Linked DNA regions of Homo sapiens: regions 1, 2, 3, 5, 6 and 7 are each linked to region 4. Evidence: promoter capture Hi-C in 16 types of primary human blood cells and fetal thymus (Javierre and others, 2016). All regions are on one chromosome and are shown on one strand. The core of a region is centred on a gene start or on the middle of the fragment in contact, and the rest is flanking DNA. Distances in the headings are between cores, read along the strand shown.

Region 1 (4,114 bases), core at 122-2,621, 2.9 Mb before region 4:
GACACATCTTGGGTAAAGGCACTCATAACAGTCGTAGACACTATGAGTTTTCTGAAAGGCTTTCTAATGCTTTAAGTAGGACTGAGCAAATAGCCAAAAGGTAAGCAAAAAAAGGAAAGAGAAATTTAAAAAATCTCTTTCCCTCAGTCAGGCAAAGTTTGGCTCCCTGATGACACCTGCTGGCTGATAAAAAGAACAGACCTGAAAGCTTTTCAGTGAAAGTAAATCATTCCACTTAAATTGATGTTTCTATCGAGTTCTTGGTCTGAAGTCATAAACACTATTAGAAATAAATGTAATGGGCTAGGAATGCCAGACAATGGGGTGATTTAGAGAAGTAATGTCCGTTCTTACAAGGCAACCTAGGAAAAGTTGATACCTCCAAATGACTCTAAGAGTTCCCAGGGAAAAAGTGTTCCATACATACATACATTCACTTACTTCAGACAACAGATTCTCGCTGTCTCTTAAGCTGGAATGCAGTGGCATGATCACAGCTCACTGCAGCCTACCTCCCAGGCTCAAGCGATCTTCCTGCCTCAGCCTCCAGAGTAGCAAGGACAACAGGTGTGTGTCACTATGCCCAGCTAATATTTTCTTTTATTGTTGTTTTTTGTAGAGACAGGGTCTCCCTATGTTGCTCAGGCAGGTCTCGAACTCCTGGGCTCAAGTGATCCTCTCGCCTCAGCCTGTCAAAGTGTTGGGATTACAGGCGTGAACCACCATGCCTGGCCTCTTACGTTTTTTTCTACAAAGGTTTTTAATGACAGCAAAATGCCACTCCAGAGGGCTCTAAAAATATCATCTAAATTTATATCTGTGACATAAATTATGTATCTAGATTTGTATCTATATATTCCTACAATAGACATTCAAAGGATTCCACAATCTAGTCCATCCTAACCCACTCCTCCACAAAGCCTTCTCAGCTTTCAATCACATTTACTATCTCTGATCTGTCTACTTCGACAGCATTTACTATTCATGTTACTTCATTTTGTCTATACTTTTTAAAAAATAGACCTTAGTACTTTTTCATGATAATAAAGTTGTGACATTAACTTTGGGTGTGATTTAATGGTGAAGCAGTCTGCAGCATATTAACACTTGAGTTTTACATTTCTCCTACTAACCCATAAATCATCACAAGTAACATTGATAGTTAAAGCATTTTTCTTATGTAGCTTAGGAGGTGCTGCTGTCTCCCTATGTGAGCTTGTTCTGTTTCTCAAAAGCTAGTTTATCAAAGTAGGTGAAAACTCAGAACCAACAAACTGGGTGGGGGGCATGGAAGGTGGTGAGTGAGAGATAACACTTACCTGCTGAAAATTTCAAAATCAAATGCTTTTGAAAACTTACTTTCATATTTATCTTTTCCCATGTAAATAGTGTAGGCAGATGAATTAACTAAGATAAAACAAAAATAAAAAACAATTAGTAACTTCATCACCAACAAAATTGTTTCATGTGAAAAACAAGTGACAATTCTTAGACTAGGGGCTGGCAAACCATGGCCCATGATCCAAATCCAGCCTACCACCTGTTTTTGGACAGCCCTTGAGCTAAGAATGGTTTTTACGTTTTTAAAGGGTTGGAAAAAAAGCAAAACAAAGAAGAATAAGCCACGGAGATTGTAGGTGACTCACAAAGCCTAAAATATTTACTATCTGGCCCCAAAAGAGAAAGTTTACCATCCTTACTAATAGCTACTTTCCTACTTTCTCAGGGTTACAGTTCAATGGTATCGCCAGTCCAGTCCTATACTTTTGCCTTCTTTAAGAGTTAAAAAAAAAAGAAAAGAAAAGAAAACTAAACACCACAACTAAGTTCCCATGTTTACCAAAGTTTTATTGTGCATAATTGTTTTTAGCCAATATTACCCATATTCCAGGTGTGCTGCATATTCTAACAGGCTCTCTATCACATTCAGGGAGACCATGACTCTCCAACTTCTAAACCAGTGACTCTGACCCCTGATCTACATTAGAATCATCTAATTATGCCCCAGCTCCACCTCAGATCAACTCAATCCAAATCTCTGGTGGGCAAGAGTGAGCATCTGTGTTTTCTAAAAGCCTTCCAAGTGATTCTAATATAAGGTCAGGGTTAGAAACAACTATCCTAACTCAAATGGAATCTTCTGGGTATGGTTTATCCTAGAAATGATATTTGCTTTACCAAGGTGGTGTTTTATTGCAGACGTCCCTACCTTGGATTCCTACTGAAAGGATAACTGAGTGCCAGGTTTCAAAGCTAGTTTACCAAAACTTGTTTGATCCAATTGGACTAAACTCCTGAATTCATAGACACTGGGCCCTCAGGCTACAAAGCCTGTGATGGAGAAGTACTGAAAAATAAATACACACTGAAGCAAAGTACTGATAAGTGCAGGGTTGGGCTGAACAGCCTGCTGGCTATCACTCCACAGCACAGAACACACACATGTACCTGGAGCCCTGAAGGACAAAGGGCAATACGCTCTCCTAAATTAAAAAGCCTTATATCAGAGAGATGCCCTGTACTTTCAGTAATGAGAAGCTTCTTAAATGATCAATCCTAGTTGCCTTTCTCGGGGGAGAGAAAACTAATTCCTTTGTTTAACATTTATAATAACTGAAGTCCAGAAGTAGTTGAGAAAAGTACCTTGAAAGAATGTGTGCATCGCCAAGTTTATAGAAATGCTTGTCTATTATTGAGCATTGTAGTACCTTGATCAGGCCTTAGTGTAGCGTGTAACAAATGCCAAAAGGGTGGGAATAAAACTAAAAAGCATTTCAGATTTTCTCTGCATGGCCTGGCAATAGTTCAAGTGTATACCCTTTCAATCCTATAACGTCACTACCTATAATGTTACCATAATAGAGTACCAAAATACTCCACCAAGCAATAATCTTTTTACAACCTAAACATCCCTTAATAGAGACTCTTTAAATATATTACAGATTTGAACATCCATAAACAAAATACCATGTACCCATTAAAAAGAAACGGCAGGTGAAGAAATTAAATATCCGAACAGTATTTTTGTGTATCTATATGATTCAATTTATAAAAAATAAATGATTATAATGGTATGTGTGTGTATATACATACACATACATGTTTTATTTTTATATAAGCACATACTTCATATGTATGGAAGCATAAACATTTTTTAACAACAGTTACCTTGGTTAGCCTGCTATAAAACATACAGATGGCTTTTGTAATTAGAACAGAATTTTCAAAATAACAATATAGGCCAGGTGCAGTGGCTCACACCTGTAATCCCAGCACTTCAGGAGGCCGCGGTGGGCAGATCACTTGAGGCCAGAAGTTTGAGACCAGCCCGGCCAACATGTTGAAACCCCATCTCTACTAAAAATACAAAAATTAGCCAGGTGTGGTGGCACACGCCAGTGGTTCCAGCTACTGGAGAGGCTCAGGCATGAGGATTGCTTGAACCTGGGAGGCAGAGGTTGCAGCGAGCCAAGATCATGCCACTGCACTCCAGCCTGAGTGACAGCAAGACTGTCTCAAAAAAGAAAAAATAATAACTGATATAAAATATTAATAAAGTTGTCTCTGCAGGCCAAGCTGTCTAAGCTACAGCCAAAATAATAATAGAGGAATGTTTTGATGGTTGACTTATTAAATGAGGTGATTAAGAAAATGGCCATAACAAACCTAAAGTGAGGGGCATTCTACAAAATAATTCAACTAACAATGCCATGAAAGACAAAGACTGAGCAATTGCTCGCGATTAGAGGAGGCTACAGAATAATGACACCTGAAGAATGCAACAATGATTTGTAAGGTATTTTTTGTTACAAATACATCATTAGGACACTAATGGGTACGGAATAAAGCCTGTTGATTAGATAATCGCATTGCTGCAATGTTAATTTCCTAATTTTGATGATGAAAAACGTCTTTTGAGAAGAGAATGCCCTTGATTTTAGAAAATAAATCTGAAGCATTCAGGGGTTAACTGCAACTTACAAACGTTTCAGGAAAAAGGTGTGTGCAAGAGAAAAAAATAGAGAAAAAGAGAAACGGAAAAAGAAAGACAAGGCATGTAGTAAAATGTCAGAATTTGTAGTCACAGTGGCTCACGTCTGTAATCCCACCACTT
Region 2 (3,865 bases), core at 538-3,037, 2.0 Mb before region 4:
ACAGGTGTGAGGACCCCAGTTCTTCTGTTTACTTTGTATTTATTTTGCTGTTTTTAAATTTTCCTGAGGTGGAAGCTTAGGTTGCTGGTTTTGGATATTTCTTCTCTTCTCATATCTCCATTCAATGCTATAAATTTTTCTCTCTGCATTGCTTTCACTGCACCTACAAATTTTGATAAATGATATTTTCATTTTCATTTAGTTCAAAATGTTTAACAATTTTTCTTGAGACTTCTTCCATGTATTATTTAGAATTATGTTTTTCATTTCCAACTTTTAAGTGTGGGGTACATGTGCAGGATATGCATGTTTGTTACATAGGTAAATGTGTGCCATGGTGGTTTGCTGCAAAGATAATCCCAGCATCCATTAGCTGTTCTTCCTGATCCTCTCCCTCCTCCCACCAGGTATAAAGCCCAGCATCCATTAGCTGTTCTTCCTGATCCTCTCCCTCCTCCCACCCCCGCCCTCCAAATTATGTTGTTTAATCTCCAAATATTTGAGAATTTTCCAGCTATTTTTCTGCTATTGATTTCTAGTTAAATTCCATTGTGGTCTGAGAGCATATTTTGAATGAGTTCCTTTCTTTTACGTTTCTTAAGATGTATTTTATTCAGAATGTGGTCTACCTTTGTCAGTGCTCCATGTGTGCTTGAGAAGAATTTGTAATTTGCTGTTGCTGGATAAAGTATTCTGTAGATGTCAATTATATTCAGCTGATTGATGGTGCTGTTGAATTCAGCTGTATCTTTACTGATTTTCTGCCTGCTGAATCTGTCTACTTCTGACAGAGGAGTGTTGAAGTCTCCAATAATAATAGTGAATTCATCTATTTCTTCTCTGCAGGTCTATCAGTTTTTGCCTCATCTATTTTGATGCTGTTGTTAGGCACATACATATTGAGTATTTTGATGTCTTCCTGGAGAATTGACCCGTTTGTCGTTATGTAATGTTCTGCTGTATCTCTGATAATTTTCCTTTCTCAAAAGTCTACTTTGAAATTAATATAGCTACTCCAGTTTTCTTTTTTCTTTTTTTGAGATGGAGCCTTGCTCTGTCACCCAGGCTGGAGTGCAGTGGCTTGATCTCAGCTCCCTGCAACCTCCACCTCCTGGGTTCAAGAAATTCTTCTGCCTCAGCCTCCCAAGTAGTTGGGATTACAGGCATGCACCACCATGCCAAGCTAACTTTTGTATTTTTTTTTTTAATAGAGACGAGGTTTTACCATGTTGGCCAGGCTGGTCTCAAACTCCTAACCTCAAGTGATCTGCTTGCCTGGGCCTCCCAAAGTGCTGGGATTACAGGCTTTAGCCACCATGTCCGGCCTGCAGCTTTCTTTTGATTGGTGTTAGCATAGTATGTCTTTCTCCAGCTCTTGGATTTTATTACATTAAATCTATCAGTAGGCCAGGCACAGTGGCTCACACCTGTAATCTCGGCAGTTTGGGAGGCTGTGGCAGGCGGGTCACTTGAGGCCAGGAGTTTGAGACCAACTTGGGCAATATAGGGAGATGCTGACTATCTTTTAAAAAAAGAAAAAAGATATCACTGGTGAAATTATTATTGTGAAAAATGTAATGAAGTATTCTTGCAAAGGGCAGTACAGTAAGCTACTTTCAGTCATTTATACTTTAGTTTGAATTAGTATATAAGAGACTTTCAATAAACAGGTAAAGAATACTTTTCGGTGGAGGGAAATGGGGGAGGGGGTGAGGAATTAAGAGTCAGTAACTGAAGGAGGGAGATGGAAGCCCCACAAACAAAAAGAGAGGCAGTCAGACATAAAAGCCAAAACGTTCCAGGCACAGTGGCTCACGCCTGTAATCCCAGCACTTTGGGAGGCTGAGGCGGGTGGATCATGAGGTCAGGAGATCGAGACCATCCTGGCTAACAGGGTGAAACCCCGCCTCTACTAAAAAAGTATAAAAAATTAGCAGGGCGTGGTGGCGGGCGCCTGCAGTCCCAGCTACTTGGGAGGCTGAGGCAGGAGAATGGCGTGAACCTGGGAGGTGGAGCTTGCAGTGAGCCGAGATCATGCCACTGCACTCCAGCCTGGGCGACAGAGCGAGACTCCGTCTCAAAAAAAAAAAAAAGCCAAAATGTGTGCTCTTCAAGATTCTTGCCCAGGGCTGATACCGCCTGAATGCTTAAGAGTTTTCCTCTCTAAGTGAATTCAGTTAACAGGTGTGCGCTGAGTATAGATTTGGGTGTGGAGAGTGAACCAGGAGTGCATCAGGGTTCCCAGGAAACAGCTGGTGACACAGCACCTGGAGACTCCTCTTCATCTGCCTTGGAACGCATTGCCTCGGAACCAGCTGTGGACACTGAAGGGAAGACAAAACGGACTTCCAGGCTTATTCTCAATGTTCCTCTTTGCTTCCTTCTTACGGTCACGTCTTTTGCAATCTCAAACCCTTTTCACAAAGGCTGCATCAAGGAAACACAGTATGCCTACTAATACCCAACTCCAGGAATCCCACTTCCTGTTAAGAGTGTCTTAGTCTTGAGAGGATTTGTCCTGGCAGGACTTGCTTTTTAGCCAAGCCAAGTATGTGGTGTGTCTGTGGGATGATTTGAGGAGTGTCTGCAAGATTGCCCTGTCCTACTCATGCCAAAAATTTCACCATGAATGAGTCATACCTGTTGCTACCAACACCCCGTTCCGAGAAGGCAAGGACACAGAAAGAAGATGGGGCAGCTTCCTTCCTCATTTTTCATGGGGATGGCCCGTGACTAGGGTCTACAGTGGAAATAAGATCTTATGTGGAGGAGAAAACATATGTGAAGTGTAAGCTAATGTTCATAGCAACATTATTCACGATAGCCAAAATGTGGGAACAATCCAAGTGTTCATCAAATGAATAAACAAAAAGGAATGTATATGTACAATATACACTGTACAATAGTACCATATATATGTACTATTCAGCCATAAAAAGAAATGAAGATCAGGCCAGGCATGGTGGCTCACACCTGTAATCCCAGTACTTTGAGAGGCCAAGGTGGGTGGATTGCTGGTGGAGCCCAGGGCTTCAACACCAGCCTGGGCAACATGGCAAAACCCTGTCTCTACAAAAAACACAAAAATCAGCCAGGTGTGATGGCACATGCCTGTAGTCCCAGCTACTTGGGAGGCTCAGGTGGGAGAATCACTTAAGCCCAGGAAAATGGAGACTGCAGTGAGATAGTGCCACTGCGCTCCAGACTGGGTGACAGAGCAAGACACTGTCCTCAAAACCAAAACCAAAATCAACAACAATAAAAAAAACAAGAAATGAAATTCTGATACATGCTACAACACGGATGAACTTTGAAAATACTATACTGAAAGAAGCCAGACACAAATGGGCAAATATTGCACGATTCCATTTATATGAAATATCTAGAACATGGAAATTCATAGAGACAGAAAGCAGATTTGAGCTCACTGGGGTCTAAGGGGAGAGGGGAGTGGAAATTATTGCTTTAATAGATACGGAGTTTATCTTATGGGTGATGACAAGCTTTGGAAATAGTGTTGATGGTTGCCTAACATTATGAATATAGTTAATGCTATTGAGCTCTATACTTAAAAATGATTAAAATGACAAACTTTATCTTATCTTAAATATTTTACCATAATAAAAAAGACAGTGAAGCCGGGCATGGTGGCTCACACCTGTAATCCCAGGTACTTTGGGAGGCAGAGGCGGGTGGGTCCTCTGAAGTCAGGAGTTCAAGACCAGCCTGACCAATATGGTGAAACCCCATCTCTACTTAAAAAAAAGGTATATAATAATAATAATAGTAAAACAATAGATGTGACTCAAGATTCCTGGCATGGGAATAGACTGAGGGAACTATGGAAAAGAGACAAAATTCAGAG
Region 3 (4,114 bases), core at 1,615-4,114, 2.9 Mb before region 4:
TTACTCTCAGAGCACCTCACCTTAAATTGCCTCAGTGATTAGGATGGGTGCACAGCTTTCCCTCTTCAAAGGTTTGTTTCTAGTTTTTCTCACCTTTCCCATTTTTCACCTGTGTTGTCATCTTTCATGACCTTTTATTGAAGATGGGAGCTGTCTTAGTTCATTTTGTGTTGCTATCACAAAATACCATGGACTAGGTAATTTATAATGGACAGAAATTTATTTGGCTCACAGTTATAGAGGCTGAGAAGTTCGAGATCAAGCAGCCACATCTGGTGGGTGCCTTCTTGCTGCATGATCCCATGGCGGAAGGCAGAACAAGAGAGTGTGCATGAGAGAACAAGAGAGCTTGGCTTGCAGCCTCACATCCTTCAATAATCAACATTAATCCATTCATGAAGGTGGAGCCATCATGAGCTAAACACCTCTTATTAGGCCCCACCTCCCAAAACTGTTGCACTAGAGATTAAGTTTTCACACATGAACTTTGGGGGACGTGTTCAAACCATAGCAGAAGCCTACCACAATTAACTGATAAAAGTGTATACTAATTTAGTCTAGCATAAAGAGACAGGCCAGGCGCAGTGGCTCATGCCTGTAATCCCAGCACTTTGGGAGGCCGAGGTGGGTGGATCACCTGAGGTCTGGAGTTTGAGACTAGCCTGGCCAACATGGGGAAACCGTCTTTCCAAAAAATACAGAAATTAGTTGGGCATGATGGGGCATGCCTGTAATCCCAGCTACTCAGGAAGCTGAGACAGGAGACTAGCTTGAACCCAAGAGGCAGAGGTTGCAGTGAGCCAAGATGGTGCCACTGCACTCCAGCCTGGGCAACAGAGCAAGATTCCATCTCAAAAAAAAAAAAAAAGACAGTGGGATACTATTTGTTAAATAATATGATATTGCTCTTTTTGTAGACTCCAAAACGTCAGTTATCAGCAATTTGAGATTTAATCTATTACTTCAGATGATTACAGATTCTCAAAGTGCTTAGTCGCACATTTGTTTTTTGGTTTTTAAAATTCAATGAACATTTAGAGAGTATCACATGCTATTGAACTATACTGAGTTCTAGAGATGTGAAGATAATTAATGTGGTCTTGCTATCAAGGAGGTTATGGTTAGAGGAGGGTAGACATTTAAACAAATATAGTGTTAGAGTTGCTAAAATGGAAGCAAAGAGATGGCTGTCACGCATGCAGAGTCAGGGAGAGCCTAGCAAAGGCTGCATAAGGTGAAAAGGGTCAGTGACTTGAACAAGTGTTTTTTCATACTGTAGGAAGTAGCCCATTAGTAGTTCATCAGACCAGTTTAGGGTGTCATATCTTGTGACAGTTACTATGGGACTGAACGAAGGTGGACGAACGCAGAAATGAAGACAAAGACAAAAGGATCTTTTTAAAGAAGGGGTCGGGAGCTCCTGCTAGTGAGCAAGGGCCCTGAGCTTTTACAGCCTTTTATATTTATTGGGTAGAAAGAGCAGGGAGGAGGAGGTAAAGGTCAGCTGCTTGATTTATCACAGGTTCACGTGATTGCTAACAGGCTTCAAATGTGCCTATAGATAATCGCAAGAAACACTGTGCCTGGGCATGACTGCCCTCAGCATTCCTTCTGGGTGGCAGATGCAGTTTGTCAGTTTGCCAACAACCTGCATTCATGATAACAGTTTGCTGTTTGCTCATATAGCCTCCAGTGGTATACTGAGTTAGTCACAACCCTCATTCTTTTGGCCTCCAACAATAGCATTTATTTTTAGTGGAATAGTGTATCTCTCACACAGCAAGTATATTTAGTGAAACTTTGGTTTTATGTCTGTACTAGTCATGTGAAATGTATTTCTTAGCATAGATTTGTCAAGTCAGTTTGAAAACTACTTTTCAGACAAATGGTAAGAAGATAGCTTGACTTAGCTTAATGCAGTGGAGCTAATGCTCCACCTTTTTTTTTTTTTTTTTCTACTTTGTCAGGTTTTTTTTTTTCCTGTTGTTTGAACTTCTTACTTTTGGTACTAGGGTTTTTTTTTTTTTTCTTTCTTATTTACTTCTACTCTTTAGGGATTTCTACTCCTTTGGTCCCTGGAAAACCAAGGTCCTTTCATTACAAGGCAAGGGTTACAAACTCAGTACCTACAGAACCAGCAGGCTGGGTGGAGACTAGGGCCAGCTGAAGAATTGCCCACTTAAAAGGGCATGTGCTATTCCAAGTTCGAACTCATAGATTCTTTGATGGAGTAGAGGTTTAGTGATCTTACAATGTCTCTTAATATTGGAAATACACATTTTTAAGTGAAATCTCTAGATTTTAAAATATTGGTAGCTAATCCAAAGTTTTTAAATACCATATGGGCCAACCAAAACATATCTGCTAGCTAGATTTGGCCTGAGGGGCTCCAGTTTGCAACCTCTATAAGTGAATCTCAACATTCTTTCATAATAGGTAAAGGTTGTCTCAACTACAGCTATCCAGCCTAAATATGTTTTTGTTTTTTTTTTTTCCTTAAGAATTTCACAGTAGTGAGATGCTGCTTTTGGTATGAGGAAAAGCAAATTTAGAAGCTTCATTGCCCAGGTGCTGGGTCATAATATGATGGTGACTCTGATTTCCTGTGGATCTGTGAAGTTCAGTATTATACTTATTTTCTCCAGTACCCCAGGAATTTCTTCATAGCTGTATGGGGTAAATATTGTCCTAAGATTTGATAAAGCAAAAAAATCTTTTTTTAAAGGGCAAAGTCAATTTCCAAAGTGTGCATCTATGTGCATCTGATATTGTGGAAGAAAGTCCCTAGGACTTGGAGTCAGAGGACCAGGATTTGAGTGTTAACACTGCCATTTACTAGTTACTTTACCTTGAGTAAATTACTGACCCTCTCTGAGTAGGCCTCAGGTTTCTCTTTGTTCCTGTCCTTATTACTTCATCAAGTTAATGTCAGATAGAAAGCACTAAAAATTGCAAGGTACTCTGATAAATGGCTGCTTTCTTTCCCTTGTAATTCCTCCAAAATTGTAAATTTATATATATCAACTTTCTGTGTCAAGATCTTTAGGTGAAGAACAGTTTTCTGTGGGATCTGTCAACTTCATGAAACAGACCAATATCCAGAAAAATACTAATACCAGAGATACAAGTAAAAAAACAAAAGACCAGCTCATCATCGTGAGTAAATTCCAAACAAAGCTTCTCCTATCTAGCCCTTTGCAGAAAAGCTTGCCAACCCCTGTATTAGACAGTTCAGAACTTGGTATTTTCAATGTCATTAAGCAATGTTTTATGTGACAGAATGGGAGTTGTAGGTGGTGACATTGAATATTCTTGAATTTATCTGTGCTTTTCCTGCACTCTATTTTTTGTCAACTCTTGGGTCAAATAATTTTAATATTGTTTAAAATAATTTAATATTCTTAGCTGCTTAAGGAAAAATATTGTATAATTAATATAGAAGTCCTAAAATTTTTGCCCTCCCTGTTTGAAATAAGGCTTTTTCAGGTCTTTAAGGGTTTCATTAAAAAGTTCCGTTGTTCATTTTAGCTGTAATTTCCACAATTTAATCTTATTCTTTCTTAGAACCATGAGTCTAGTAAATAATCTTGTAAAAATAAAAAAATCTTTGGTTTTTACACTGTCCATTCAAATAATTCCCTTTCATCAATTTATTGCATTTTTAGGTCTCTTGTCTCTTTTTTTTCCCCCCCCAAAGAGATGGAGTCTCACCATGTCGCCCAGACTGGTCTCTAACTCCTTGGCTCAAGTGATCCACCCACCTCAGCCTCCCAAAGTGCCGAGATTACAGGCGTGAGCCACTGTGCCTGGCCTGATCTCATTTCATTTTGTCTTGGGGGAGGGAAGGAGGATATGGTAACCAGATTTTCATTTAGTTTTTCACTTGTGTCAGCAGGAAAAAAAAAATTAGGTGAAATTTGAATGAATGGTTATAGGAACTTAATTTAGAGCTATTTGTGCTATATTTAAATGGGTTTCTTTTTTTACCCCCCAATTATAGGACGCTGGTCAGAAACATTTTGGGGCTACTGTGTGCAAGTCTTGTGGTATGATATATACTGCTTCCAACCCTGAAGATGAAATGCAGCATGTACAGCATCACCACAGGTTTCTG
Region 4 (3,985 bases), core at 1,092-3,591:
CCGCCTCCTGGGCTCAAGCGATTCTCCTGGCTCAGCCTCCCGAGTAGCTGGGACTACAGGCGCGCAGCACCACGCCCCGCCAATGTCTGTATTTTTAGTAGAGACGGGGTTCATTCACCATGTTGGCCAAGCTGATCTTGAACTCCTGACCTCAAGTGATCCGCCCACCTCAGCCTCCCAAAGTGCTTAGATTACAGGCGTGAGTCACCGCACCCGGCCTCAGTTTCAATTCCTAAAGCCACCTGGCTAGGCAACCCACAAGGCCTCTACATTCAATTTCATAAGTGAAATGAGGACGCTATGAAAGCTGTCCACATCCAGCCCAATTGTAAGAATGAGAAAATGTGTATGTTATTTTTTAAACAGTAAAGTCATAAAAACGTGTTATTTCAGTATTACTATTTTGAGTTGGATCTGAAAGAAGGGAATGATTTACCGGGCTGAGGAAAGTAGGAGACAGCCTTGGGAGGAGGGAAAGCGTGGGGCCAAGAAGAAGAAAGGAGAATTGTCAAGTGAGAAGGTGGGAGCAAAAAGTAAATTTCTAGAACAGGAAACATTTGTGTCTTATTTCACGTTGCAAAGGCAGGACCTCAATCTGGACTTTAAAAAAATTACTCTAAAAGATTTAAATAGGCCGGGCGCAGCGGCTCACGCCTGTAATCCCAGCACTTTGGGAGGCCGAGGAGGGCGGATCACGAGGTCAGGAGTTCTAGACGAGTCTGGCCAACATGGTGAAACTCCGTCTCCATTAAAAATTTAAAAAATGTGCAGGGTGTCGTTGCGGGTGCCTGTAATCCCAACTACTTGGGAGGCTGAGGCAGGAGAATCGCTTGAACCAGGGACGTGGAGCTTGCAGTAAGCCAAGATCGCGCCACTGCACTCCAGCCCGGGCGACAGTGCGAGACTCCGTCTCAGAAAAAAAAAAAAAAAAAAGTAAATAAAGCCGTACAGTTTACAACAAACTAAATGCTTACAGTATTTGACCCTCGCAACTCTAGGAGCAAACAGGTATTAGTGTTATTCCTATTTTAATACGTGAAATCTGAAGTGAAGCTGTCTGGTTAAGGTCGCACAGATGGAAGAGCCAGGGCCAGGAACCAAACCTCCTGACTCCTAACTCAAGTGCTCCTTACACCAGACCTGGAACGCTGGTAAAGGCCTTTAAAACAAAGGCCACCTGTGAGGTTCGGGAACGTTCAAAGGCATCTAGAGCAGAAAGCTTCGCAATGTCTGTCTTTCACCATCACGTGCTCCGCCTAACTTTTCCTCCTTTTTCAAAGACTACCCAATATGTGTACTAAGTTTTAGATCTCTGGACCCCCCTATGGAGTAAACAGGCTACATCACCATGTCCATTTTACAATTAAACAAAACCACAACTCAAGGAGTTGGCTGGTTCCTCCGTGGGCAGACACGGAAAACCCAAAAATTAAACTGAAATCTGCCTCCAAGCCCACGATTCTTGCCACCATTCGACCTCTTTCAACCTTACTACTTCCCCTCTCTTTCACTTTTACCCAGCCTCGTTAGTGTCCCTGGCACCTCAGGACCCGGCTATGAAAAGCAGGCTGCTTCGCCCTTAAATGACGGAAGTGGGGAGGTGGGCGAAAAGGGGGCCGCAGCGTTGTTTAGACTGCAGAAATCAACTACTATCGTTAAAGTTTAGGGATCATCACAAACCAAATCTCCAAAAGGTAGCCTAGAAAGCAGTCCGCGTATGAGCATCATTTTAAATCACAGTCTTGAGCTGGCTGGACCCCGCGGCTGCTCAAACTCCACACACGGTTCGCTTGGCTACCGCGCCCGTGAACTTGGAGGCTTGGAAGAGGCACAGTCAGGCGGCAGACCGCGAATTTTCCCTCTTTCCAACCCAAAAGTTTGCTCAATGAACCTCTGGCCTAAAGACAATGCTCCGGGGAACGGTTCGCGTGCTGGGTGTTTCGCTTCGAGAACGGCGGTCCCAGCTTCCCGTGAGGTGGAGGTCACGCTCAGCCTCCCGGGAGGCGGCGGCGCGCCTGCGTCCCAGGGAACAGCAAGCCGGGGCTCTGCGCCCCACACCCGGCGGCCGCAGCCCCTACCTGAGTGAGAAGGGCAGCCTCGCACGACTCGCCGCCCCCTTCCTGCGCCTCCGCCTCGGCCGGCCGCCCACGCCGGCACTGCACCCTCTTCCTGCTTCTCGTCAGCGCCCCCGCCTGCCCGCACGCACGCCCAGCGCTGACCCGCCAGGTCGGGGTCTCACCACTGGCGGTGGCGGCGGCGGCGGCGGCAGCGGCGGTAGCTGAGGCGGCGACTGGACCCGGGACTCCGCCCGCCACTTCCCGATCGGGTGCTAGGAGCTCAGTCCCGGCAGCCACCGCGGCGCCAGGGCAGCCAAGCGAGCGCATGCGTCATTGCGTGCCCCGCCTCTGGTGCCGCGGGAGCGGAACTATCCCGCTCTGGCGTCCTGGGGCCTCCATGACAACGAGGGAAGGGCTGGGGTGGGGCCGAGAAGGGGACTGAAGTGGGAGGCGGCGCCACTGAAGATGGAAGGCAGCTTTCTTTATAGACACTTTATTAAAACTGCTACAGCCTGCTCCGGCGTGCGCTGGGATGTGGTGAACCCAGCCGACGACGCTATCTTTCAATGGTTACTTTGTGTTTTTTGTCTTTTTCTTATTAGAGACGTGATCTCACTCGGTCACCCAGGCTGGAGGGCAGTGGCGCGATCTCGGCTCACTGCAACCTCCGCTCCTGGGCTCAAGCCATTCTCCCACCTCAGCCTCCGGAGTAGCTGGGATCACAGGCGAGTGCCACCACGACGGACTATTTTTGGTTATTATTGTTGTTGTTGTTTGTATTAATAGGGTCTCACAATGTTGCCCAGGCTGGTCTCGAACTCCTGAATTCAAGCGATTTGCCCGCCTCGTCTTCCCAAAGTGCTGGGATTACAGGCGTGAGCCACCGCGCCCGGCCTCAACGGTTATTTTGTGAGTTTACCCCAGCGCCACACACCAGCACCTGCACACCGAGAACGCGGTTCCAGCTCTTTTACAAGCGAAGAACAGAGGGCCAGGAAGCTAATTAATAAATGACTTGCTCAAGACAACACAGCTAGCAAAGGCAGCCTGATGTGGAGCACAGCCCAGCCTCTTCCCTCCACCCCTGTGAACTGTCTTAGAAAAGGATTTTGGATTTAGAAGCCAGATAAATGGGTGGAAATAAAGCAGTGGAAAAAATAATTTCATTGCCCGAAACCTGCAGCGTGGCAGGCCTTCCCTCACTCTTATAACCTAAAGCGGCAGTACAGCCAGTGCTCAGCCATTCTGTGGCTGTCGTTGAATTACTGGTTACTCTTCAAGTTACTGAAACTGTGGCTCAGTTTTCTCATCGGGGAAATGGGGATAATCATTGTACTACTACAATGAGTTACTTGCATTGGACTGTGGTGAAAATTAAGTGAGAAAATACCTAAAATTTTATTCAAAACTTGGAAAAAAGTCAAAAGATAATATTTTGTGACTTTTATTAGTTTCATTCTAGAGAATTTTGTAATAAGCCTACTTGATCATCTGACACCCACAGGAAATGTAACTTTGTTTGAATAACAATTGATTAGGGCCCAGAAGATTTACAAAAGGATGAAATCAAACATCAATTGGTAGGAAACTGATGAGGTGTTAGGGGAAAAAGGGGCAGGGAATTCAGTGTGTATATAGATAGATAGATAGATAGATAGATAGATAGATAGATAGATAGATAGATAAAATTCCAAAGGTTAAGGTTGCATTTTTCTGAGAAAAATTAACCGGTTTTGTATCAACTGAGCAGTTTTATTTCAGCATTCCTTTCCCCAACGATTATATAAATATCATTTTTCAGAACTGGTAGAAATCCGTTTTATGATTCTGCTGGCTCCCTTATTAATGAGTGAGAGACTTATACATATGGACAATGGCTAAACCGCATATGATAATAACACTCTAACTCACATAAGCCAAACCATAAC
Region 5 (3,779 bases), core at 261-2,760, 2.6 Mb before region 4:
ACTCTGGAGCCCAGGATGTTGCTTCCCGGTCTGGTGGTGAATCCTCCATAGTCTGGTGAGTGTAGTGTCCAAGTCTGGAACCCAGGCTGTTGCTTCTTGGTCTTGTGATAAATCCTCCATAGTCTGATGGGTGGGTGTGTGTGTGTGTGTGTGTGTGTGTGTGTGTGTATACACATATACTTTCCCTTCTACCCTTCCCATTGCAATTTGCTTATTATATCTGCATTGCCATTTACATGGGATAAAGGTCGTTTACCCTTAAAGGTATTGTGTATGTGTCTTTTCTTCTCCCCTCACGCATATCCCACAGAGAACAACCAGAAAGGTGGGACAACTCAAAGCATTGATGTGGGGTCAGGGGGCAACACTTTCAGGTCACAGGCAGATTCAGTTTTCTCTGACTGGCAATTGGTTGAAAGAGTTATTATCTATAGACCTGAAATGAACAGAAAGGAATGTCTGGGTTAAGACACAGAGTTGTGGAGACTAAGGTTTTATCATGCAGAGGAAGCCTCCAGGTAGCAGGCTTCAGAGAGAATAGATTGTAAATGTTTCCTTTTTTTTTTTTTTTTTTTTGAGCCGGAGTCTCACTGTGTCGCCCAGGCTGGAGTGCAGTGGTGCAATCTCGGCTCACTGCAAGCTCTGCCTCCCGGGTTCACGCCATTCTCCTGCCTCAGCCTCCCAAGTAGCTGGGACTACAGGGGCCCACCACCACGCCCGGCTAATTTTTTGTATTTTTAGTGGAGACGGGGTTTCATCATGTTAGCCAGGATGGTCTTGATCTCCTGACCTTGTGATCCGCCCACCTCGGCCTCCCAAAGTGCTGGGATTACAGGCATGAGCCACCGCGCCCGGCCGTAAATGTTTCTTATCAGACTTTAAGAGTCGGTTCTGTGCTCTATCAGCCTTAAGGTCTCTGTGTTGATGTTAACACTGGTTAGCAGCTCCTGAATTCTAAAAAGGAGGAGGGAATAAGGAGGCATGTCCAACCCCACTTCCCATCATGGCCTGAGCTAGTTTTTCAGTTTAACTTTGGAATGCCCTGGGCTGAGAATTATTTTCGGTTTACAGAGGAGAACTTATGTTCATTGGTATAGGATGACAATGAGGTCAGACAAATACCACTGAACTTGGCAGGCTGGGAAGTTACAAAGCTTAGCAAGGCCAGTTTCAGTGTCATAGTGGGGTCAAAGCCTCGTTGTTGCCTCAATTCTAGTAGGGTACATATTCCTGTCTTTATTAATGGGAGAGGTTCTTAATCTCCAGCCCATGGACAAAGGAGATCATAGATGGGTTTCAGGAAAACATCCCAAGTCCTGCCTCCAAATTTTGCAAAATTTTGTGCCTGTGTATTTTTCTGGAGAACGTAAACCAAACAGTGTCTGAGACAGGTCTCAGTCTGGAGGTTTATTCTGCCAAGGTTGAGGACACACCCAGGAAAAAGAGACATAAGTTATCATGGAATCTGTGGCCTGTGGTTTTTCCAAAGAGGGTTTTGAGGACTTCAATATTTAAAGGGAAAGAGCAGACAGAAGGGGAAAGAGGAACAACTATGCATTCATTTCACACTCAGTAAATCTGCCTTTTACAGAAGACAAAGTAAACATAGAGGAAGGAGTCAAATATGCATTTTTCTTGGGGTGGACTGAAGGGTGATTTCTAGTCTTGTCCTTGTCCCCTACCTACTGTAAATTTGCATGGTCAGGGTGGAATTCAACAGAAGTGTTGTAAGGTAAAGACTCTGCCACTCACAAGGAATTTCCCTGTGAGCAACTCCTCTGGGAGGCCACCTAGGGAGATATGTGGGCTTCTGTCTTTGCAGCTGTTTAGGAACAGAAGGAAGGCAGTTTTTGCGTGACTCAGTTCACAAGCTTAACTTTTTGTTGTTGTTGTTGTTGTTGAGACAGGGTCTCGCTCTGTCGTCTAGGCTGGACAACAGAGAATGATCTCCACTCACTGCAACCTCCACTTCCGGGTTCAAGAGATTCTCCTGCCTTAGCCTCCCAAGTAGCTGGGATTACAGGCGTGCACCACCACGCCTGGCTAATTTTTGTATTTTTAGTAGAGACAGGGTTTCACCATGTTGACCAGGGTGGTCTTGAATGCCAGACCTCAGATGATCTGCTGGCCTTGGCCTCCTGAGATGGGCATAGTGCTAGTATTACATGTGTGAGCCACTGCGCCCGGCCCTAAGCTTAACTTTTTTCTTTGGCAGAGTTTAGGGTCCCGAGATGTTATTTTCCTTCCACAAGAGACATCCACAGCTTTCACGATGGTTACCGATCATATGTGCCATTCATCTAAGACCAAGGTGACCACCTGGTCCCAAAGCCTGCACCTCGGATTCTTACTCGATTCCCGCCTGGTCTCTTCCAGGCCCTCAGTTAGTTTCCACAACATGGGAGGGTTCCTCCTCCGTGGTCTCGCCCATTCGCGTTCCCACCCACCCTCCCCGGATGTGACGACCCTGGGCTCCCACTCCCCCCCATGAGAGACCATCCACTTCCACCCTTTCACTTAGGCTTCCTGGCGCAGCCTCTATCCAGGAACTCTGTCCCATAGCTGTACTGCCCAGGTCGAGCTTTCTAACCCCAAGATGCCACTCCGTTCAGACGTTCCCATCCTCCATCCCTGAGACCCGGGGCAGGATCGCAGCCTAGGGGCCTCACGGGCCGCCTGCTACCCTGTTAGTTGCAACACGGGGCGGGGCGTGGCTTTGTGCACGTCGGCTTCCGGGAAGAGCTTTACGATACATTGACCGACATTTTACGACAGGCGGGATTGTTTTGTGGCTGTCAGCTTTCCCCGTGGTCTGAGTTTGTGGCTGCATTTTTATCTCTGGTGGCTCTGCTACGGCGGCGCAGAAATGAGGCAGAAGCGGAAAGGTGCGAAAGGGGAAGGAGATGGGGGAAAGGGGTGGTCCGAAAGGGGCGAACGCCCAGGCAATCAAATGCTGAACCGAACTTTTACCGCGAGAATCCGCTACCCAGTCCAGTCGCCCCGCCACCTAGGGTCAGTGTGTCCATTCTGGTCCCCGAGCCTTCTCGTTTTTCCTGTTTTGCTTTTTGAAGCACCCTACCCTTCCTCTCTTCCTCTTTGGCAGTCACGTGGTGTCTTGTTTGAATGGCAGGGAAACCATTATTCCAATATATGCCCTCCGAGGAGTTAACGTCGATTTAACGGGTTGTAGGACTTTTCATTTGTTAAGATTTGTTTCACGACACATTTGACGTGTTAGAGAGTTTCTTTTAAAGCCTTATTTTAAGATATTAAAAAAACCTTAATTATCCTTGGATTCAGTGTAAGAGTTGTGCATGCAATTATTCCCATTTTTATTACATCATGAGTTAGCAATGAACAATTCCACCTTTGGTTTTTCAACAGGACGGATTCAAATTTGAAATATTCTCTCACAGGTTCTGTTCCTATTTCTGTATCTCACAGGTTCTGTTCCTATTTCATTTGACCAGCTGGTCTAATCATGGTAATTGTTGTCAGAATAATAGCTACCATTTATTGAGCTTGTATTTTGAAGTCGGTATCATTTCCATTTTACAGATGAAGAAGCTGAGATTCAAAGAGTTAAGTAACTTTCCCAGACCAAAATTATACTTAGATATGGAGCTGGCTGGTCAGGCTGTATCTGTGACCTCAAAAAACATAAAATGAAAAATAAATACATCGTTAATCCCTATGCTTCTTGACATTAACTGTTATTTTTCTTTCTTCCAAGCAACAATTCTAAGTGTCCAAGTTACCTTAGATTAAGTCTTGTCATA
Region 6 (3,896 bases), core at 242-2,741, 2.8 Mb after region 4:
AGTAAACAAGTCAGGCTATTTTACAAAACATTTCTTCCTCTCATTCCTGTCCTTGGGCATTGCCTTCTTGAATTAATATAGTATCTCTTGGGGCAGAGGATTTGAAATGGGCTTTTACTTTGTCTTGCAGGTTATCTGGGATACACTAGGAAACAAGCAATTTTGTTCCTTCAAAATAAGGTGAGTCTCAATTTACAACTTGGTCAAAGATTCCTTCAGTTGCCTCTTTGGCAACCCATTTTATAATCTTTGTTTCTTTTCTCCCATTCTAGAACCAAGACTCAGAGCTTCTGCCGAAATGAATATAGCCTGACTGGACTGTGTAATCGGTCATCCTGTCCCCTGGCAAATAGTCAGTATGCCACTATTAAAGAAGAGAAAGGTAACTCCCCAGTTTTAACTTCTAGAAGAACTGCTCCACAGCTTTTACAGGGATGTTCTTTAGTTTCTGTAAATAACACTAAAGCTATTTTACTTTATCTTCAGGACAGTGCTACTTGTATATGAAGGTTATAGAACGAGCGGCTTTTCCTCGGCGTCTCTGGGAACGGGTAAGCCTTACAACAAAACTACAGTGACCGCTGATCAAGAGCATCAAAGCCACATGCTTGACCATGATGCCCAATTCCATGACCATTAACTTTTGAGGCCATCCTCATTAGGCCATGGGTGTCACTGACAGTGAAAACCTAATGAATCATTTACACTTGCCCTTCAAACTTCCTGTTTCTGTTTGGTAGGTCCGGCTTAGTAAAAACTATGAGAAAGCACTGGAGCAAATAGATGAAAATCTGATTTACTGGCCCCGTTTCATTCGACACAAATGTAAGCAGAGATTCACCAAGATCACCCAATACCTAATTCGAATTAGAAAACTTACACTAAAGCGACAGTAAGTATTTGGATCATTCATTATTTTTAAATCTCTCTTTTTATGGAGCTTGTTTTGAAGTTGAGAAATTGTGAAACTTCGGGGCTTTCTATTCAACTTTGTGGAGTCTGTTATGATGTACTAAAGAGAAACTTTAGCTTTGACTAAAGGTGTGCCCTTTGATATGGCAGGACTTTTAAAACAGTAGAATACAACTTGATTATCACCCTCCTTGTCTGAAAATCTTTCAGAAAATTTTATTTTCTTTTTTGTTAAGACGGAGTCTCACTCTGTCGCCCAGGCTGGAATTTGCAGTGGCGCGACCTCAGCTCACTGCAACCTCCATCTCCCCGGTTGAAGCAATCCTCCCACCTCAGCCTCCTGAGCAGCTAGGATTACAGGCATGGACCACCATGCCTGGTTAATTTTTTTTGTATTTTTAGTAGAGATGGGGTTTCACCATGTTGGCCAGGCTGGTCTAGAATTCCTGACCTCAAGCGATCCGCCTTAGCCTCCCAAAGTGCTGGGATTACAGGCATGAGCCACCATGCCCAGCCTTCAGAAAATTTCCTCTATGACCCCCGAGGGAATCTTAACTTTAGAGATTTGAAAATGATCTAAGACATGTGACTATACAGGAATGTAAGAACTTTACTCTGGATTCACTGAAAACTAATTTTTAAAAGTGATATGAAATCCCCAGAATTAACAGAATACCTTCTCTAGGACTGTTAGGCCCTAATGCTTTTTGACTGTGATCTACATAGAATGCTAAAGATGATGTCAGACTTCGACAGAAAATTCTTTTTTCTTAGTTCACTGAAGTCTTAATTTTAGCATGGTGAATGCCCTGAGAATCCCAGAATGCCTGAACAAAAATGGCCGGATTAAAATACATGTAAAAATATATGACTTTTTATAGTATTAAATTTCTAGAAGCGTTTAGTGTATCTTGCTGTATTGAGCTGAGCCCTACAGCACCAACCTTGGGCTCCAAGGCTTGTTTGAATCGCTAGCCTCCGTGAATGCCTGAAGCTCAGCCATCCTGCCCTGCACATGAGTAGACTTCCATTTTAGTCACCAATTCCAATCCTTTTTTCTTCTCATCCTTAAAAAGGAACACAGCACATGACAGTGGATTTTCTGATATATTTTCTTTCCCTTAGGAGGAAACTTGTTCCTTTGAGTAAGAAGGTGGAGCGTAGGGAGAAAAGAAGAGAGGTAACTTATTGTTGAGATATTCATACCTTCTACATTTTCTTTCTGGGGGTCTCTTATAGATTCAGTCACCATCATTATGTAAACTGTTGAGGCCTTGGATAATGGTTCACTAATAGATAACTATTAGTTGCCTAAGACATTTAATTTTTCATATTTTAAGATTATGATTTTCAGCACAGGTTAAAGTATGTGTGCTTTGGGGATATATGTAATGGAGAACAGAAAGAATCCACAACTCCTTTTTCTGAATTTCTTGTGGTCAAATATTTCAGACTTCAGAATTTTGATGTTGCATATTTTACATACTACATAAAACCTTTAGTAGATTTTGAGCATTCTAATCAAATGGAATTTCTGCAGTGAAATACAATACAGGCATGCAGTGAGTAATAACATCATGGAAAATTGGGTATCCGTCCCCTCAAGCATTTATCCTTTGTGTTACAAACAGTTCAATTATCCTTACAGTTATTTTAAAATGTACAATTAAATAATTGACTATAGTCACGCTGTTGTGCTGCTAGCAAATACTAGGTCTTATTTCATTCTTCCTATTTTTTTTAGCGGGGGTACCCATTAATCATCCCCACCCCCATTACCCTTCCCAGCCTCTGGTAACCATCCTTCTACTCTGTATATCCATGAGTTCAATTGTTTTGATTTTTTGATCCCACAAATAAGTGAAAATGTGCAGTGTTTGCCTTTCTGTGCCTGGCTTCTTTCACTTAACATAATGACCTCCGGTTCCATCCATGTTGTTACAAATGACAGAATCTCATTCTTTTTAATGGCTGGATAGTACTCTATTGTGTATAAGTACCATATTTTCTTTATCCATTCATCTATTGATGGACACTTAGGTTGCTTCCAAATTTTGGCTGTCGTGAACAGAGCTGTAACACACATGGAGTGTGGGTATCCCTTTGATACACTAATTTCCTTTTGGGTCTGTACCCAGAAGTGGGACTGCTAGATGGTATGGTAGCTCTAGTTTTAGTTTTTTGAGGAAGCTCCAAACTGTTCTCCATAGTGGTTGTACTAATTTACATTCCCACCACCAGTGCACAAGGGTTCCCTTTCTCCACATCCTCTCTAGCATTTGTTATTGCCTGTCTTTTAAAAGATAAAAGCCATTTTAACTGGGGTGAGATATTTCATTGTTTTGATTTGCATTTCTCTGATGATCAATGATGTTGAACACCTTTTCATATGCCTGTTTGCCATTTGTATGTCTTCTTTTGAAAAATGTCTACTCAAATCTTTTGCCTCCCCAATCCCTGCCCCCTGCTTTTTTTTTTTTTTTTTTTTTTTTGAGACAAGGTCTCACTCTATTGTCCAGGCTGGAGTGCAGTGGTGCGATCTTGGCTCACTGCAACCTCTGCTTCCTGGATTCAAGTGATTCTCATGCCTCAGCCTCCCAAGTAGCTGGGACTACAGGTGCATGCCACCATGCCTGGCTAATTTTTATATATTTTGTAGAGACGAGGCTTCACTATGTTGCCCATGCTGGTCTTGAACTCCTGGGCTCAAGCAATCCAACCACTTCAGCCTCCCAAAGTGCTGGGATTACAGGTGTGAGCCACCATGTCTGGCCCTTTTATTCACTTTTTAATCCAATAATTAGAATTTTTTCCTATAGAGTTGTTTGAGCTCCTTATATAGTCTGGATTTTGTTTTGTTTTGTTTTTGAGATGGAGTCTCATTCTGTCACCCAGGCTGGAGTGCTATGGGGCAATCCCAGCTCACTGCAACCTCTGCCTCCCAGGTTCAAGCGATTCTTGTGCCTCAGCCTCCCAAGTAGCTG
Region 7 (4,099 bases), core at 674-3,173, 2.9 Mb after region 4:
CGAAGGAGATTACTAAAGGAACAGGTGGTGCTCAGTAGCACCACAGTGGGGTCAGCTTTTAGCATCATGTGGTTACTGTTCTGTTTTTTGTGTTTTTTTGGGTTTTTTTTTGTTTGTTTGTTTTTGAGAGGGAGTTTCACTCTTGTTGCCCAGGCTGGAGTGCAATGGCATGATCTTAGCTCACTGCAACCTCCACCTCCTGGGTTCAAGTGATTCTCCTGCCTCAGCCTCCCAAGTAGCTGGGATTACAGGTGCCTGCCACAGCACCCGGCTAATTTTTGTATTTTTAGTAGAGACAGGGTTTCACCATATTGGTCAGGCCAGTCTCGAACTCCTGACCTCAGGTGATCCACCTGCCTCAGCCTCCCAAAGTGCTGGGATTACAGGCGTGAGCCACCACGCCCAGCCCTGTTCTGTTCTTTGACCACAGCCAAAGAAAAAGAAATCAGCAATTCACAGCTCTCAAACCTGTCCTTCTGCAAGAACAGATCCTGACCTGCAAGGGGGTGGTTGTGGAGCCTATAGCGGCTCCTCTACTTCAAGGAATATGACTCAAAAGGCAAACACTTGGAAGGACTCGGCAAGACCCTAGCTCATTGCTACCAGACTTGTCCACCTCTGTATCTTCCTCTATGTATCACCTTGGGCAGATCCTGAACAGTCTGAGCATGAAATTCCTCATTTATAAAGTGGGTCAATACCTATACTAAGGATTAAGCGAGCTAAATGTTTTTTCAAATGCTGACCACAATGCCTGGCCTATGGAAAGCCCTTGGTAAAGAGTGGCTAAAGGCCGGGCACGGTGGCTCATGCCTGTAATCCCAGCACTTTGGGAGGCTGAGGCAGGCAGATGGCTTGAACTCAGGAGTTTGAGACCACCTTGGGTGACATGGTGAAACCTCATCGCTACAAAAAATATAAAAATTATCCACAAAAAATTAAAAAATTAGTTGGGCATGGTGGCACACACCTGTACTCGGGAGACTGAGTTGGGAGGATGGCTTGGGCCCGGGAGGTGGAGGTTGCAGTGGGCCGAGATCTTACAACTGCACTCCAGCCTGGGCAACAGAGCAAGACCCTGTCTCAAAAAAAAAAAAAAAAAAAAAAAAAGAAAACCTAAGGTCACACCTATTATTGGTTGATTTACGAAATGAACTCTGGTCACCCACTTCCTAGCCTAGAGTAGTTTTCTCTAAGTCATTTTTGTAGAGATGGAGTTTTGTTCCCAAGGCTGGTTTCAAACTCTTGGACTCAAGCGACTCTCCTGCCTTGACCTCCCAAAGTGCTACAATTACAGGCAAGGGCCATGGTGCCCGGCCTAGATGGTCTCTTGAAGCCCTTTGCCGCTTGGCATGTGTATGCTTCTGTGTGTGTGTGGTGGGCAGGGGGAGCAGGGAGGAAAGGGACCAAGGAGAGTTGGTTTTACAAACCCCTCTCAGCCTCATCATAAAGAAATCTTTGGTATTTGGTGTATCTTCATCCCTGTCTCCAGGATTTAAGTGTGAATTGCTTAACACGGGTGTGCGGGAGTGGGCAGGTTGGTGGTCAGGAAGAATTCAAGGAAAAAAACAGGCTTCAGGAAAGGGGAGGAGACAGGAAGAGAGGAGAGATACCAGAAATCTACCCTCATCTCCGCTTAATGGTTAGATGCAATCTTCAGACCCAACTGTACAAGAGGGAAGATAAACCAGTATCTCCTCTGCATAGATTTTTATGTGGAAAATTCTAGTTTCAGGGACCTGTGTGAAAAGTTCTGAGAAAGAACAGGTCCAAGGTAGCACCTGGGAGTGGTGGGGAGATGTGCCTGAGGGCACTTCCCCTTCTTAGAGGGAGCTCTTCCAGCCTTGGAGAAGATGGACTAGTACCTGCCTCTCTTGTAGCTGCCTTCTAGCAAAGCACTCAAACCCAGAAGGGCATCTTAGGAATAAAGCCAGCAAAGCCTTTTCCTTAATCTTAATTTAATCTTCTTAAATTATTTGATCAGTCACCAGCCCAGACCACAGCTGATGTCTACCCAAGCATTTGGTAATGTGTGGGTGGCGGGGGAGACAGCTAATGGCCACAATGGCCCTAAAGACTACTAGTATGCCCTATTGGCCAGGGATGTTCAATATTCTCCAATGTACAGAACAGTCCCATACAATGAGGAATTGTCAATGCCAACAGTAAACCCCAGTCAGAAACACTACTACTTTGATTCCCATTCTAAATACCAGTCATGCTCAAAATTTTTTATAGAAAACAGCCACCAGAGGCCGAGCACGAGGGCTCATGCCTGTAATCCCAGCACTTTGGGAGGCCGAGGGGGGTGGATGACTTGAGGTCAGGAGTTCGAGACCTGCCTGGCCAATGTGGCAAAACCCCGTCTCTACTAAAAATACAAAAATAAAAATTAGCTAGGCATGCACCCATAATTCCAGCTATTAGGGAGGCTGAGGCAGGACAATCGCTTTAACCTAGGAGGCAGGGGTTGCAGTGAGCCAAGGCTGTGCCACTGCACTCCAGCCTGGGTGATGAAGTGAGACACCGTCTCAAAAAAAAAAAAAAGAAAGAAAGAAAAAGTAAAAAGAAAACAGCCACCAGTCCCCATGTCCTTCAACAAGAGATAAGAGAAAGCGTTCCTGGAGTGTGGCGAGCCCTGCCAAACTCCAGGTCTTCTCTTGGATCCCTAAGCAATCAAGAATAAATGACAGTTTTTTAGGTTTGTTTTGGTTTTTTCCACTCTCAAAAATAAGAGCTTATAAGGCGGAATAAACAAGTAGCTCCGCCCGGGTGTGGTGACTCATGCCTGCAATCCTAGCATTTTGGGAAGCTGAGGTGGGTGGATCACTTGAGCTCAGGAGTTCGAGACCATCCTGGTCAACATGGTGAAACCCCATCTCTACTAAAAATACAAAAACTAGCCAGGCGTGGTGGCGTGCGCCTATAATCCCAGCTACTTGGGAGACTGAGGCAGGAGAATTGCTTGAACCCAGGAGGTGGAAGTTGCAGTAAGCTGAGATTGCACTCCAGCCTGAGCATCTCAAAAAAACAAAACAAAACAAAAACCAAGTAGCTCTCTAGACACCGGCTTGCTTCCTAATATTAGTATCTGGAGGGCTGACAACAGGTCCCAGGAGGGCAAAGGAACATGACGCTGGCATAACTGATGCCCACCTGTTCCCGACCACCCAAAGGGCATGAGTAGGAATAGAGACAGACAGACAAGGAAGGGACCACTAACTTTATTACTCAGTCACACAGTAATTCTAGGCAACCTTAGAATAATTGGCGAGGAGGTGGGATGCAGCCCAACCCGTGGTGACCTTATATGCTCAGGAACAACTTGATAGGCTAATGTAAATAGAAACACCAGATCCTCAGGGGCCTAGAGAAGGGCAGGCTCAGCCGTGTCCTCAAAGTGGTGGCTCCAGTATAAGACTGGTGACTCTGCTGTGGGACCCTCGCTCAGCTTACCCCACAACCCTGGTCTCCTCCCTCCTGCTGGACTCCCACCCCGGTCAGCCAGGGATCCACGCACCTGATAAAATAGCAGCAGAAGATAAGGCTGAGCATGAAGACAAAGATGCCTGTGCCGAAGATGACCATATAGATGTTGAGCGGAAGGTCCTGGAAACTGATGGGTGGCATCGAGCAGGACTTGTTGGTGCTAACCAGTCCCAGGCCACAGAAACACCCTGCAAAGGGAGAGAAAAAAAAATCATTAGGGTTGGAAATTTACTGCTGGGCTGATAGCACTGTGTCAGCAGGATAGAAATAACTGGCAGGCTCTGGGCACCTAAGCCTCAGATTCAGTGGCTCCAGTTTTATATCCTAGTTCTAACATTTACTAGCTATGTAATCTTGAGTAAATCTGATCTACAAAATTGAATACTATCCAAAATACTTAAAACAATATCCCCATCTAAGGGACAATAAATTCAGGCAAGCTGGGTGTGGTGGCTCATGCCTGTAATCCCAGTACTTTGGAGAGGCTGAGGCAGGTGATCTCGAGGCCAAGAGTTCAAGAACAGCCTGGCCAACATAAGACCCCATCTCTAAAAAAAAATAGAAAAATTAGCTAGGCATGGTAGCGCATGTACTACCATGTAGTCCCAGC

Evidence for each region. Contacts are between HindIII fragments. The CHiCAGO score rates a contact against its expected background, and 5 or more counts as called.
Region 1: a fragment that was not itself captured here is called in contact with the fragment with the promoter of GTF2E2 in region 4 in 1 of 17 cell types (activated CD4 T cells); the score reaches 5.4 in activated CD4 T cells.
Region 2: a fragment that was not itself captured here is called in contact with the fragment with the promoter of GTF2E2 in region 4 in 1 of 17 cell types (neutrophils); the score reaches 8.2 in neutrophils.
Region 3: a contact is called between a fragment that was not itself captured here and the fragment with the promoter of GTF2E2 in region 4, in 1 of 17 cell types (activated CD4 T cells). The highest score is 5.4, in activated CD4 T cells.
Region 5: a contact is called between a fragment that was not itself captured here and the fragment with the promoter of GTF2E2 in region 4, in 1 of 17 cell types (fetal thymus). The highest score is 5.5, in fetal thymus.
Region 6: a contact is called between a fragment that was not itself captured here and the fragment with the promoter of GTF2E2 in region 4, in 1 of 17 cell types (monocytes). The highest score is 6.4, in monocytes.
Region 7: a contact is called between a fragment that was not itself captured here and the fragment with the promoter of GTF2E2 in region 4, in 1 of 17 cell types (non-activated CD4 T cells). The highest score is 5.4, in non-activated CD4 T cells.

The regions. Positions count from the first base shown.
Region 1 is chr8:27,763,845-27,767,958 of GRCh38, forward strand. It overlaps CCDC25 (coiled-coil domain containing 25), which reads right to left. Exons shown (of 9, transcript NM_018246.3): 2 at 1,360-1,407. Among named protein-coding and RNA genes, the nearest start is that of CCDC25, 6.7 kb to the right of the region's middle. The HindIII fragment of the contact is 2,330 bases long and covers 207-2,536 here.
Region 2 is chr8:28,614,548-28,618,412 of GRCh38, forward strand. It overlaps a transcript of EXTL3 not described here. Among named protein-coding and RNA genes, the nearest start is that of EXTL3-AS1, 85 kb to the right of the region's middle. The HindIII fragment of the contact is 3,428 bases long and covers 74-3,501 here.
Region 3 is chr8:27,784,847-27,788,960 of GRCh38, forward strand. ESCO2 (establishment of sister chromatid cohesion N-acetyltransferase 2) reads left to right here. Exons shown (of 11, transcript NM_001017420.3): 6 at 3,039-3,156; 7 at 4,001-4,114. Among named protein-coding and RNA genes, the nearest start is that of ESCO2, 12 kb to the left of the region's middle. The HindIII fragment of the contact is 622 bases long and covers 2,554-3,175 here.
Region 4 is chr8:30,655,895-30,659,879 of GRCh38, forward strand. GTF2E2 (general transcription factor IIE subunit 2) reads right to left here and starts at 2,342. Exons shown (of 8, transcript NM_002095.6): 1 at 2,079-2,342. RefSeq lists enhancers at 871-1,542, 2,214-2,885 and silencers at 1,927-2,016, 2,027-2,436. The HindIII fragment of the contact is 11,766 bases long and covers 1,218-3,985 here.
Region 5 is chr8:28,090,349-28,094,127 of GRCh38, forward strand. It overlaps ELP3 (elongator acetyltransferase complex subunit 3), which reads left to right and starts at 2,791. Exons shown (of 15, transcript NM_018091.6): 1 at 2,791-2,885. The coding sequence starts at 2,867. RefSeq lists enhancers at 2,372-2,925, 2,417-2,466. The HindIII fragment of the contact is 717 bases long and covers 1,153-1,869 here.
Region 6 is chr8:33,488,248-33,492,143 of GRCh38, forward strand. MAK16 (MAK16 homolog) reads left to right here. Exons shown (of 10, transcript NM_032509.4): 2 at 131-180; 3 at 273-382; 4 at 487-551; 5 at 741-892; 6 at 2,038-2,092. Among named protein-coding and RNA genes, the nearest start is that of MAK16, 5.0 kb to the left of the region's middle. The HindIII fragment of the contact is 5,323 bases long and covers 1-3,896 here.
Region 7 is chr8:33,555,095-33,559,193 of GRCh38, forward strand. RNF122 (ring finger protein 122) reads right to left here. Exons shown (of 6, transcript NM_024787.3): 2 at 3,521-3,677. Among named protein-coding and RNA genes, the nearest start is that of RNF122, 10 kb to the right of the region's middle. The HindIII fragment of the contact is 4,905 bases long and covers 1-4,099 here.